4 separate regions of the Homo sapiens genome follow, and regions 2, 3 and 4 are each linked to region 1. The links are contacts of gene promoters, found by promoter capture Hi-C in blood cells and fetal thymus (Javierre and others, 2016). All regions are on one chromosome and are shown on one strand. Each heading gives the region's core, a stretch centred on a gene start or on the middle of the fragment in contact. The rest is flanking DNA. Distances are from core to core; before and after follow the strand shown.

The links. The method cuts DNA at HindIII sites, captures the fragments that hold promoters and counts their contacts. A CHiCAGO score of 5 or more calls a contact.
Region 2: a fragment that was not itself captured here is called in contact with the fragment with the promoter of ACO2 in region 1 in 1 of 17 cell types (fetal thymus); the score reaches 5.4 in fetal thymus.
Region 3: a fragment that was not itself captured here is called in contact with the fragment with the promoter of ACO2 in region 1 in 3 of 17 cell types (total CD8 T cells, non-activated CD4 T cells and total CD4 T cells); the score reaches 8.8 in total CD8 T cells.
Region 4: a contact is called between a fragment that was not itself captured here and the fragment with the promoter of ACO2 in region 1, in 2 of 17 cell types (naive CD4 T cells and naive CD8 T cells). The highest score is 5.2, in naive CD4 T cells.

Annotation. Positions count from the first base shown.
Region 1 is chr22:41,467,228-41,470,433 of GRCh38, reverse strand. It overlaps ACO2 (aconitase 2), which reads right to left and starts at 1,317. Exons shown (of 18, transcript NM_001098.3): 1 at 1,252-1,317. The coding sequence starts at 1,287. It overlaps PHF5A (PHD finger protein 5A), which reads left to right and starts at 1,742. Exons shown (of 4, transcript NM_032758.4): 1 at 1,742-1,832; 2 at 2,287-2,310; 3 at 2,820-2,986. The coding sequence starts at 1,781. RefSeq lists enhancers at 650-1,211, 1,212-1,773, 1,343-2,012. The HindIII fragment of the contact is 1,589 bases long and covers 94-1,682 here.
Region 2 is chr22:40,953,756-40,956,974 of GRCh38, reverse strand. The region is part of intron 2 of RBX1 (ring-box 1); the gene reads right to left. Among named protein-coding and RNA genes, the nearest start is that of RBX1, 4.0 kb to the right of the region's middle. The HindIII fragment of the contact is 7,256 bases long and covers 1-3,219 here.
Region 3 is chr22:40,868,408-40,871,523 of GRCh38, reverse strand. XPNPEP3 (X-prolyl aminopeptidase 3) reads right to left here. Exons shown (of 10, transcript NM_022098.4): 2 at 2,409-2,525. Among named protein-coding and RNA genes, the nearest start is that of DNAJB7, 7.9 kb to the right of the region's middle. The HindIII fragment of the contact is 820 bases long and covers 1,382-2,201 here.
Region 4 is chr22:40,848,841-40,852,343 of GRCh38, reverse strand. ST13 (ST13 Hsp70 interacting protein) reads left to right here. Exons shown (of 12, transcript NM_003932.5): 2 at 1,464-1,521. Among named protein-coding and RNA genes, the nearest start is that of ST13, 6.0 kb to the left of the region's middle. The HindIII fragment of the contact is 7,823 bases long and covers 1-3,503 here.

The DNA of each region.
Region 1 (3,206 bases), core at 68-2,567:
CCATATGGTTTCAATTTAAGCAATGTGATGAAAAATAAGTTCAAGTTTAAATTTAAGCAATGTGATGAAAAATAAGTTCAAGTACCACAAGCTTCCTGAGAGTACAACGCATAACAACTCGTAAAATTCTATTATCAAAGTTGCGCCACTTGATCCAAAAGGAATTCACAAAGTTAAATGTGAAAGGTTGACAGAGAATGTCTACAGATGCTTGCTTGATTTTTATTAACAAAGTACACATTTGACATTGAACCTCTGAGTATAACACCTTCCCAGGGCTGTCAAGTTAGAAGTGAAAAAATCATCTGGCAGTCAGTCAGCTTTCTAGATAGCTCCTAACAGGGGAGTCAAGGTCAAACTGGAGTCTCCTTATCCTCCCATATTTGACAAGCAACTTATTGTGAGGCTCAAAATATTCGTACTGCATTCTGACAAACAGAAATAATTGCACCGTGGTTCATAAAGTTCTGTGAGGGCAGGCTGACATAAACAAGAACTGAGTGGTGGTAGGGCCCATGCTTCTGCCACAGCACTTCGGTGACACTCTTGAGAATCAGAACTTTCACCTACTTTCTACCAGCTTTATCATCTATCAAATGAGAAAAACCACCTCATTCCTACGATTACAGGAATCAAATAATATTATGAAGAATTAAAACAGGCCTCAAATCTTGTGCAAAGGTGAGAGACTATTATTATATTATTTACTACGTATGGGCCCAGAAGACCGCCCCCCTCCCCGACATTCCACGTTCCGCAGGGTCCTCAAAAGGTGGTACAGGGTCCTAGTTTCTTCTCCAGACTCCAGGCCTGGCAACCGTAGATGCTGTCATGCCTCTGTTGCTAAGAGATGGGAAGTGAGGCCTCAGGAACTGGGCCTAGAAGACTCAACAACGACCGCGCCCCCTAGTCACCTTGTCCTCACCTTGAGGAATGGAAACACACCCCACGGGAGCAGGCAATGCTGTCCTCAAAAAGAAGAAAGAGGTGCCTCCGCTCTTCACCCGGCCGCCGCTGCTTGGGCCCACGCTTCTTGCGAGGCAGGGACAGGGCCAGGAAAGCTGACTGTGCCGGGGACGCCTTGACCTAGGGCACCAGAGAAGCGGGCACGGGTGCCGGGCCCACAACCGGGACAGGTACACGAGAAGTTGGCCCCAGGTTGGGCCCGCCTCGCCCTGCCTCGCCCACAGCCGCCGGCACAGTAGGAGGCACCCCGCCCCCGTGAACCCAGAGGTCCCTGAGCTCGCTCACCTGCAGCCGAGTCACCAGTAGGCTGTAGGGCGCCATTTTGTGCACTGACAAAGATGAGGTCGCATTAAAGTGACGTCCCACACGGCGCCTTTAAAGCCTTTGGGCAGGGGCGTGCCCGGAAGAGTGGGGCGTCACGGTGAAGGCGAGGCCTCCCTAGAGGCGCCAGAACCCTGTGAACGCAATGGGCGGAGCTCACGTGCAACGAACAGACACGCAAGAGGAAATCGGACTGCCCAAAGACACTTGCAGAAATAGATACCAAGCACAAAGATGTTTTACCCAAGAACAAATTTTAGTTATCTCCGCCATCCAAATCTGGGAGAGTTTTTAAGAGTTTCATGCACCTGCCAGGACCTGGCCGCCCAGCAGCGACAAAAACTCGCGCGAGAGCAAGACGGGCCTGGTGCAAGGATTGTAAACTGACGGAAGCTTAGAGAACCAATCACAGCGACGTGGAGGCAGGAACAATGGGGGTTAAAGGTCGGACGGAAGTTCCCGAAGCTTCCGGTGGCCGGCTTAGTTAGGAGCTATGGCTAAACATCATCCTGATTTGATCTTTTGCCGCAAGCAGGCTGGTGTTGGTGAGACTGCGCCCTACCCCTGGCTGTCTGGGCAGGGGTGGTATTAGGAGCTGGGGGGTCGGGGGTTCCCGTCTCTTCCTTAGGGGCTTGCCTCGCAGGCGCCACGTTTCCCGCCTCTCAGGCGCGGGGTGTTGTAGGAGCGCGCAGGTTTGTGGCCTCTGATGAGAAGAGGGCGGGGGTGCGCGTGCTGGGAGCCCCAGGCAGGTATCGGGGGGTGGGGTCTGAACCAGGTCCAGAGAAACTCTGAGCTTGCCCAGGGCGTTGGAGGAGATTCAGGAGGGTGCTTGGATGTAGGTTTGGTTCATATGGAAATTTGTAATGATAAAATGGCTATCCGCAGGTCTCACTCACTGCAGTCCTTACTCATGTCCCTACCCCCAGCTCGAGGATGTACTTCTCCTCTTTCTCAAAACCTTTATTCTAATTGTACTTTTTACCATCTTTCATCTTGCAGCCATCGGAAGACTGTGTGAAAAATGTGAGTGGAACACACCGTCCCAACAACCCACCCTTCCCACTCCCAGTTTTCTGTGGAACCAGCAAAAGTGCCACAAAGAGGGCTTTGAGTAGATGTGCCTGGAAGTATGTGAACACTGAATGCTGCACTTTAGCCAAAGGCCCCTCTAACTCCCCACTGCCGCTTGCACATTTAACGCTGTATCTCTCTAGTTTTCAACGGGAAGAATCGCCAGAGTAGCATGACCCCTCCCCAACACACAGCACTTTGCCAGCAATTATACAGGCTTATCATCTCCGAGGTGCTTTTCTAAGCTCTTCACATATGTTAATTGGTAAACTTTTGTATGTGTTGAGGGGCTTGAGATGGACACTGGGGAAACCAAGTTTTGTGATGCCAAGAGGAGGGCCCTAAAGTCACTGTCAAAAGGAGACTAGTGTATTTCCCAGGAGACTAGTATATTTCCCCATGGCAGGAGATAGCAGAGGACTGAAGAACTTGTGAGCATGACTCCATTCTCTTCCTTACAGGTGATGGCAAGTGTGTGATTTGTGACTCCTATGTGCGTCCCTGCACTCTGGTGCGCATATGTGATGAGTGTAACTATGGATCTTACCAGGGGCGCTGTGTGATCTGTGGAGGACCTGGGGTCTCTGATGCCTATTATTGTAAGGAGTGCACCATCCAGGAGAAGGACGTAAGTGTACAGCTTTCCATCTGACCTTTCCTCCTTTTGTTTAGTAACACTTTGCCATCCACTGCAATCTCCTATGGTCTATGGAGATTACTGTGTTCATCTAGTCATCTAGGTTATAATTTCTTCAAGTTCTGTGAGTCAAACTGGGTGTAGTCCAATAAAAGGCAGTTATTTTGCATCAAGGGGAAGAATGCAAGGGAAGCAAATCTTTGTCAAGACC
Region 2 (3,219 bases), core at 147-2,646, 510 kb after region 1:
CAACCTCCGCCTCCTGGGTTCACGCCATTCTCCTGCCTCAGCCTCTCAAGTAGCTGGGACTACAGGCGCCCGCCATCGCACCCAGCTAATTTTTTGTATTTTTAGTGGAGACGGGGTTTCACCTTGTTAGCCAGGATGGTCTCGATCTCTGGACCTTGTGATCTGCCCGCCTTGGCCTCCCAAAGTGCTGGGATTACAGGTGTAAGCCACCACGCCTGGCCTAAGAGTGTGTTTCTTAAAGGTAAAGACTTGAGGTCGGACATGGTGGCTCACACCTATAATCCCGGCACTTTGGGAGGCCAAGGGGGGTGGTTTTTTTGAGGCCAGGAGTTTGAATGGGTCATGTCTGTAATCCCAGCGGTTTGAGAGGCCAAGGCGAATGGATCACCTGAGGTCAGGAGTTTGAGACCAGCCTGGCCAACATGGTGAAACCCTGTCTCTCATAAAAATACAAAAAATGAGCCGGGTGAGGTGGCCCACACCTGTAGTCCCAGCTACTTGGGAGGCTGACGCAGGAGAATCACTTGAACTCCAGCCTGAGCGACAGAGACTCTGTCTTTAAAAAAAAAAAAAAAAAAAAGGTAAAGACCTGCCCGATCTCACTCATTGTTTTATCCTGGTGCCTACCAGGATGCTCAGGATATATTCATTGGATAAATAAAAGATAGGACTTAGAAAATACTTTCATAAGTTTTTGTTATAGGATTTCAATATCCTACTTCATCTGACATTCAAAATATATTATGAAACAAAACAGGTATCCCACTGAAAGCCTAATATGATGTCTCAAGCATTTCACTCTAAGAGAAGACAATATAGATCGCCTTTGTCTTCTGTGGTCCTTTTAAGAAGTACATTCTCTCATATCCAGAGACACATATACACTGACTTAAATATAGAGAAAAAAAAATCAGGGTTATATAAAATCATTAAAAATCATTAACTATTTTCAAAACAGAGCCCCAAGAAAGTAAAATTTTCTCTGGGTATAACTCCTTGTGAAAATGCAAGGCCGAGAAACTGGCAAGCATGTAATCAAAGACCCCACCCAAACACATTTGAAACCCTGCATATGTTTTTCTGTGATGGGTTCACGGCATCTATATTAAACATTATGGTAGGTGCTGATCTTCCTTGGCTGTAGTGTGAAGAGATAAACAGTGTCAAAGCTCAAAGAAGCCAAGGGCAATACATGACCAGTATAAGCCATGACTGCTTTCCAACAGAAAATATTTGATTCGTGCTTTTCAAGTTGAAAACATCTGAGCAAGTTTAAGATAAGATCTAAAGCTCAACTATGGGTTAGTCTTACATTGCACAATAAAGTAGTTATTAACCACATGTGACTACTGAGCACTTGAAATGTGGCTAGTCTGAATCCAGATGTGCTGTAAGTGTAAAATACACAGAATTTCAAAGATAGTACAAAGACAGAATGTAAAATATCTCATTTTTTTTTTACATCAATTACATGTTGAAGTAAAACTATTTTGACTATATAAGGTTAAATAAAATACATTAATTTCACCTTTTTATTTTCTTTTTACTTTATGAATGTGGATACTAGAAAATTTCAGGCCAGCCACAGTGGCTCACGCCTATAATCGCAACATTTTGGAAGGCCAAAGTGGGAGGATCACTTGAAGCCAGTTCGAGACCAGCCTGGGCAACAAAGCGAGATCCCGTCTCTGAAAAAAACAAAAAAAAAAAAAAAGGAAAAAGAAAATTTAAAATTATATACGTGTTTGTACTGGCTTACATTCAGATTGGACAGTGCTGGGTTAGACAAAACCAAGGAAGAGAAGAGGTGAAGAATATTCTAGGCAAAAAAGACTAGGCTATTTAAGGGCTCTAAAATAGAGCATGGACACTTAAGAATGGAAAAGCAGGCCGGGCATGGTGGCTTATGCTTGTAATCCCAACACTTTGGGAGGCAGAGGCACGCGGATCACCCGAGGTCAGGAGTTCGAGGCCAGCCTGGCCAACACGGTAAAACTGTGTCTCTACTAAAAATACAAAAATTAGCTGGGTGTGGTGGCAGGTGCCTGTAATCCCAGCTATTGAGGAGGCTGAGGCAGGAGAATCACTTGAACTCGGGAGGCGGAGGTTGCAGTGAGCTGAGATCACGCCACTGCACTCCAACCTGGGCGACTCCATCTCAGAATAAGGAAAAAAAATGGAAAACTGGCCGGGGCCATGGCTGCTTTGGCCACCGTGGTCAGTTAAAAAAAAAAAAAAGCATCCAGGTAAACTAACAGAGTGAGCAGGAGTGACTCAAGACAAAGTTGTAAAGGCAGGTGAGTGATCTGAAAAATAAGTTCCTATAATTCCATTTCTAGAAACTTAAAGTTTCTTTCCTCCATTTCTGGCCTCAGTAACAAATCATTTTAGTTCCCGGATGAAAAAGTAACCTCAACTGTTCCTGGTGTGATCAACATTCTTGTCCCTTCTACTGTAAGGACAGGAAATCAGTTCATCAAAGACTATAATCAGATCACTATGTGCTGACCACTACATGTAATAAAATATGTGGAGATTTAAATGAAATTTCTTTAGTGCAATTAATTATTTATTTAGATGTTGGCAATGATTTCCTTTTTATTATGTTTGGGCCTAACATACAAAATCCTCACTCCTTAACGCTTCTTTCCTTTGTAAACAATGACCAGCAAAAATTAGATCAGATAGACTTTTTTTTTTTTTTGAGACTTTGAGTCTTGCTGTGTCGCCCAGGTTGTAGTGCAGTGGTGTGATCTCGGCTCACTGCCACCTCTGCCTCCCAGGTTCAAGCAATTCTCCTGCCTCAGCCTGCCAAGTAGCTGGGATTACAGACATGCACCAGTACGCCCAGCTAATTTTTGTATTTTTAGTAGAGACAGGGTTTCACCATGTTGGCCAGGTTGGTCAACTCCTGGCCTCAAATGATCTGCCCGCCTTGGCCTCCCAAAGTGCTGGGATTACAAGCATGAGCCACTGCGCTTGGCCTCAGAATATTTTAGCTCAAAGTTTATTTTCCTCCTTTCACTATTTCTACCTTTGAGTCTAGGTACAAGATGGAAGATATGCAGGAAAAATCAACAGTGCCTGTCGTCCACAATTAATTCTAAATGTGTCCCTGCCATCTTTAGATTGAGTAGATTTATTCTGAGAGCTGGGTATGCCTCCAGGACATCATAAAAAAACTACTCTATTTCAAACACACCAACAGACTAGATACAG
Region 3 (3,116 bases), core at 542-3,041, 600 kb after region 1:
TAATAATTAGGAAAGGCATTGAGATGTTTCCCAAAAGTATTAAGTACATACTGCCATGTATTAGAGAAATATGCAAAACATGAAACCTTTTGGAGAAACCAAGTGCACATTACATAATTTTATATCCTAAACTAACAAGCCAACTGCGTAAGAGACTTTTTTTGAGAGAGAGAGACACGGTCTCATTCTGTCACCCAAGATGGAGTGCAGAGGCATGATCACAGCTCACTGCATCCTTGACCTCCTGGGCTCATGCAATCCTCCCACCTGAGTCCCCCGAGTAGCTGAGACTATAGGCAGGAGCACTAATTTTTTTTATTTCTTATAGAGACAGGGTCTTGCTATGTTGCCTATGCTCGTCTCGAACTCCTAACCTCAAGTGATCCTCTCATCTTGTCTTTCCAAAGTGTTGGGATTATAGGCGTGAGCCACTGTACCTGGCCTAAGAGACTTTTTAAGTATTACATGCCTTTAAATTTTTTTTCCTTTTTTTTTGAGACAGAGTCTCCCTCTGTCCCCCAAGCTGGAGTGCAGTGGCACAATTCTGGCTCACTGCAACCTCCGCCTCCCAGATTCAGGTGATTCTCCTGCCTCAGCCTCCCCAGTAGCTGAGATTATAGGCATATGCCACCACACCCGGCTAATTTTTTTTTTGGGGGGTATTTTTAGTAGAGACAGGATTTCACCATATTGGTTAGGCTGGTCTCAAACTCCTGGCCTCAGGTGATCCACCCACCTTGGCCTCCCAAAGTTCTGGGATTACATGTATGAGCCACTGCGCCCGGCCCCTTTTAATTTTTCTTAAAAATTTACTCTGCTTCACCCTACAATCACTTTAACACTTCCACAAGTTTTGCATCTCTGGAAGGAGAAACACAAATGATTAATTCTTTTGATACTTTTGTCTGCAGAAAAATCTGTACCTAATGGTACATCTGATAGTTTGAGGTTTAAAATACTAATAATTCTGTTTTAAAATTCCATCTACTTCCATCCCTTCTCACTTACCCCAATGTCCAAAATCCCACGTCTAGGAGAGTAAAATTAGGACAGGCATCCCTTTTCCCCCAGATATTCACATACATATGTATGTGAACATATACGTGTACATATTTATTTACATTCACTTATACTTAACATGCACTTAAGGTATAGAGCAAAAAAATCTAGATACAGAGGCCATTATCTTGACAATATAATTACTAGGTTTAAGGCCTGGAAAATGCAGCTTACCATGTAAAAATATCTCACCACAAGAAATCAGTAATTTTCAAAGCTGGTAAAACTATCAATTCTACTTAAAAAAATAACTCGAGTCTACAGGTAGGTTGATAGGGTAGATAAATACTAAAATTAATACCAACTGGGTTGCTATTAAGCTTACCTTACAGCTTTGAAAAACTCTGATTTCTTGTGGGTTTCAGTGGTGAGCTGCATTTCCTTAGTTTCAGCCGACTTCCCAGCAGGAATTCGAGTCTGATGAAAAATCAGCAAAAGGAAGCCCTCACTGAGAAACATACTGGTATCATTCACTGAGTGGGGATAGTGAAAAAGGAACATATTTCTAAAGGTAAATTTCCATTAGTAATATATATGCTTATATGGCAAATACATATTTAATTTCTTATGGCAGAAAGAACAATTAATTTTCCTTGAAAACCTGATTGCTTTTTCTACAATGTGTTTGCTTTTACCCTACCTTCCTCTCTGAGATATTCATTAGTCATAGTTCACCCCTTAAGTGCAAGAAATCAAAACAAAAAACCTTTAGGTCTAAATTTGAGCAATAGTTATAAGACATCTTCTGGCAGCAACGCTGGGATCTTATAGCAGAAAAAAAAATTAGTAAAACAAACCTTTATCATTTTTTTGCATCACCTTTATCAACTGGGATACTACCTCTCAAATCTGTGACAAACAAATCTGGAAATCTTGCTTAATCTATATAGAAATAGGTTATAATTTTAAAGTAAATATTTGATAATTTCAAGAAAAAACATGTTTTCTAAAATGTCTTTAACACAGTAATTCACAATAGTATACAATTCTAAAAGCTGACTTAGAAATAGAACTTTGCTTTAAAAACATCCTGAAATACATACCTTTCATTAATTATTCTGAATTATAAGGTCTATCATATTTAAACCTTGTTCTAGACTAGTATTGTCAATAAAGCACCAGTACCCACATGTAGTTAAGCTTAAATTTAAATTAATTAAAATTAAATAAAATAAAAAGTTCAGCTCCTCAGCTGTACTAGCAACCTTATTAGTGTAAAATGGCCATGTGAGGTTAGTGGCTACCTTATGGAACAGCACAGATCCAGAGCTTACTGCAAGAAGTTCTATTGCATAGCATTGCTCTAGACAGAACCTAAATGGGGAGATAGCACAGTTAAAAGGCCTTACCTGGTCTGAGGAGGTGTGGGTGTGTAAAGGGGCTGGGCTGGCCTAAGTATCGGTTTGGAATCCTCCTTTCTGGGACAGGCTGAAGGGAGTACCTTCGCTGTGAACACAACATACATCCTGAATGAAGAATAAAGAGAATGAAATGAAACAATAGATCTAGAAAGTCTTCATGGTATAAATACACTTATCTCTAGCAGTTTAGATGCTTTAGAAAAATGCAAACTAATATTTCCTTCCTTCTCTCCTTCAATATTCATTTATTTTTTTTTTAAGACAGAGTCTCACTCTGTCACCCAGGCTGGAGTCAGTGGCATGATCTCGGCTCACTGCAACCTCCACCTCCTGGGTTCAAGTGATTCTCCTGCCTCAAGCCTCCTACATAGCTGGGATTACAGGTGCGTGCCACCATGTCTGGCTAATTTTTGTAGAGACGGGGTTTAATCCTGTTGGCCAGGCTGGTCTCGAACTCTTGACCTCAAGTGATCCGCCCACCTCGGCCTCCCAAAGTGTTGGGATTACAGGCATGAGCCACTGCACCTGGCCCTCCTTCAATATTTATATGGCCTTTGCTCTGTGTCAGACTCTGTGTTGGGCCTTAGGAAAACAGAAATGAGATCTTTACCCTCAGAGACATTTGTCTGCTATAATATTTTATACACATACACACACACACACACACACACACACGCACACATATATAATAAAGGT
Region 4 (3,503 bases), core at 681-3,180, 620 kb after region 1:
CAAAAAAGTCTTTTTAAATGACCAGTAAATATATGAAAAGGGACTCAACTGCAATGAGATGCCAGTAGGCACCTATCAGAATGGCTAAAAAATCTTTAAGATGGACAATAGCTAAGCATTGGCCAAGGCGTGAAACAATTGGAATTCTCATACATTGCTGATAAAAGTGTAAATTGATAAAAGAACTTCAGAAAACTGATGCCCATTTAAATTCAGCCTGCACATACCCTTATGACCACAAATTCCACCCAACTGAAATGAATGTAAGTGTGGATATGACAACTCTAGTTACAAAGAATCAGGCCGGGCGCAGTGGTTCATGCCTGTAAATCCAGCACTTTGGGAGGCCAAGGCTGGCGGATTACGAGGTCAGGAGATCGAGACCGTTCTGGCTAACATGGTGAAACCCTGTCTCTACTAAAACAAAAAATCAGCTGGGTGTGATGGCATGCACCCTGTAGTCCCAGCTACTTGGGAGGCTGAGGCAGGAGAATCGCTTGAACCCAGGAGGTGGAGGTTGCAGTGAGCCAAGATTGTGCCACTGCACTCCAGCCTGGGTGACAGAGCAAGACTCCATCTCAAAAAAAAAAAAAAAGAACCCTTTCTGTTTTCAAAGTTAATATATCCCCTTGTTTTACATAGTTAATGGCTTTTGTTGTTTGTTTTTAAGGCAAATTTTAATAATGTCTACGTTGCTTCCAACTGTTGTGGAGTGCTCTTAAGTCTATCAACCATTTTAGTCACTGGATTGTTGCAGGTAGCCCATATACTATAGGGTCTGCACCAAATGGAGCATGTAACGCTAATTCTTTGTAATTTTTCTCTTCTAGTTATTTGCTTATAATGAATTGTGTTGCCCTGAACTATTTGGGAAAGAAGAGTTTGTAGGGTCAGGAGGAAGTATTAATGGATGAGGTTGGGAGGGGTGTATAAGGAGAAAATCTATAATGTGATGGGCATGCAAATATAAGCAAGAAAAATTCTCATAGGTCTCAGTCACAGGACACAAACATTTTGAATTATATCATGACGGTATAGTTACTTCATAAACTGCATATTTGAATTTAATTGAACTCTTATTTCAAGTTTCAAATTTAGGATTCAGATATACCTACTGAGTTGAATTCTAAGTTAACAGCTTGTGCAAATGATTTTGTCATTGCATGTTGACATATCTGCCTCTTTTCCTCTGGGAAGAGGCACAGAGAAGCTATACATTATGTTTATTTGACTCATTGAGGCAAAGAAAGGGGTTCATTAGCCAGTAGCCTTAAAATAAATTTTAAGCTGGAAAAAATTTAACCATAATAATACCACAGCATTCAGATTAATTGAGAGTTTACTTTTAAATTTTGAAAAGGTAGTCATCTAAATGTCTAACGTTATTTTTTAGGTGTAAATACGTTGCGTGACAGTGAATTTTAATTTTCTAAACAAATATCTTTTTTCTCATCTTCTTCAAGCATGGGTGGTAAAGTACCACCTGCTACTCAGAAAGCTAAATCAGAAGAAAATACCAAGGTAAGTTTTAATTTCATTTGTATGTTTTGTGATAAAGTACTATAAGATTTCTTAGGGGTTGTTTTTAAACTGCTGCTCTCCAGTTATCACTCCTGATTTCCCCAAGATCACTTGGAAATAAGACCTTTTAAGACCTCTTTATCTTTATAACTTTGTAGACCCGAATTCTCTGGATTCTGATTTAGAACTGAGAATTTAGGGTTGGATGTTCACTGTTTTAGAATACATGACAATAAAAGTTACATGTATGGCCTGTAAGTGGTAAGCTCCGTGATGGTGTGCATCCGTAGTCTTCATCATTGCCTTACAGTGTGTCATATGCATTGTAGGTACTTTATTTATTATTTGCAGAGTAAATGAAGTATCCCAGGTCAGTAATTTAATTTTTTTGCTCTACTACCTGAGTGATATTTGTGAGTGTGAATCATGGTGTTGGGTTAGCATATTTGCTTAAAGGACGTGTAAGATTAGGAGAAGGTTACCAGTAGCTGAAGTTGAGAGACAGATGAAGGGGAACATACATGTTTAAGAATGTTTTCTTTTATTTGTTTGTTTTTTCTTTCCTGAGACAAAGTCTCACTGTGTCACCCAGGTCTGAGTGCACTGGTACAATCTCGGCTCACTGCAACCTCAGCCTACTGGCTTCAAGCGATTCTCCTGTTTCAGTCTCCCGAGTATCTGGGATTACAGGTGCATCCCACCATGCCTGGCTAATTTTTCTATTTTTAGTAGAAATGGGGTTTCGCCATGTTGGCCAGGTGGGTCTCGAACTCCTGACCTCAACTGATCTCTCAGCCTCCCAAGGTGCTGGGACTAAGGCGTGAGCCACCATGCCTGGCCCAGAATGCTTTCTTCATAATTTTTTATTTCTCTCTTCTGCCTTCATATCTAAAAGGCTTTTTTTTTTTTTGCAAATTTTCTGATTAGCTGTCTTAAATCGACAAGAAAATAGCTGTTTTATTATTTAGAAACTTAAACATTGTTATCTATTTGGATCTTAAAGTGGAAGTTATGTCTATTAAGAAGGAGAATGCGAAAAGGTAAGCAAAAGCCCAAAAAGTAGTTACCTTTTTTTTAAAAGGACCATTTATCAGAGTGGTATTTTCTGAGCCCTAGATATTTTGCTATTTGGCAAATGTGTATGAAGGCAAAATTATATTTAACCTATGTGTCAGCTGAAAATTTTTTGTAAGAAAAACATTCTAAACTAGAATTATGGCTTGTCTTTTCTTTTCAATATATTCTAGAATACCTAGACTTTGCACATTTTATAGGGACTCAACAAATATTTTGTGACAAGGTAGGTTTTTGGTTCTAATTTTTTTTTTTTTTTTTTTTTTTTTGAGACAGAGTCTCACTCTGTTGCCCAGGCTGGAGTGCAGTGGTGCGATCTCTTGGCTCATTGCAAGCTCTGCCTCCCAGGTTCACGCCCTTCTCCTGCCTCAGCTTCCTGAGTAGCTGGGACTACAGGTGCCCACCACCACGTCCGGCTAATTTTTTTGTGTTTTTAGTGGAGAAGGGGTTTCACCATGTTAGCCAGGATGGTCTCAATCTCCTGACCTCGTGATCCACCCACCTCGGACTCCCAAAGTGCTGGAATTACAGGCATGAGCCACTGCGCCCTGCCTTGGTTCTAATTTTTTAAGTAACAGGGAAGCAACCTAAAAATGGTTAACAATATATGGTTGAGTGAATAGATGAAGGTAGGCTGATAATGGTATATAATTTACAAGATACACAGCGTTGTTAAATGCAAAAGGCAAAGGATAGAGTTGTTTCATATATAGAGAGACTATCCTGCAATGGGATATACAAGAAACCACACTGGTTATTTATAGGATGGGAAGAAAGTGTTGCTTTCTATATGTCGTGCACTTTTAAATTCTTTGAATTTTCATTGTTTATTATTGTAATTCCACAGGTTCTTATTTGCAGTTCCAAAACTCAAAAACCCTTGTAAAGATTTTTACTAAATTTGGCAA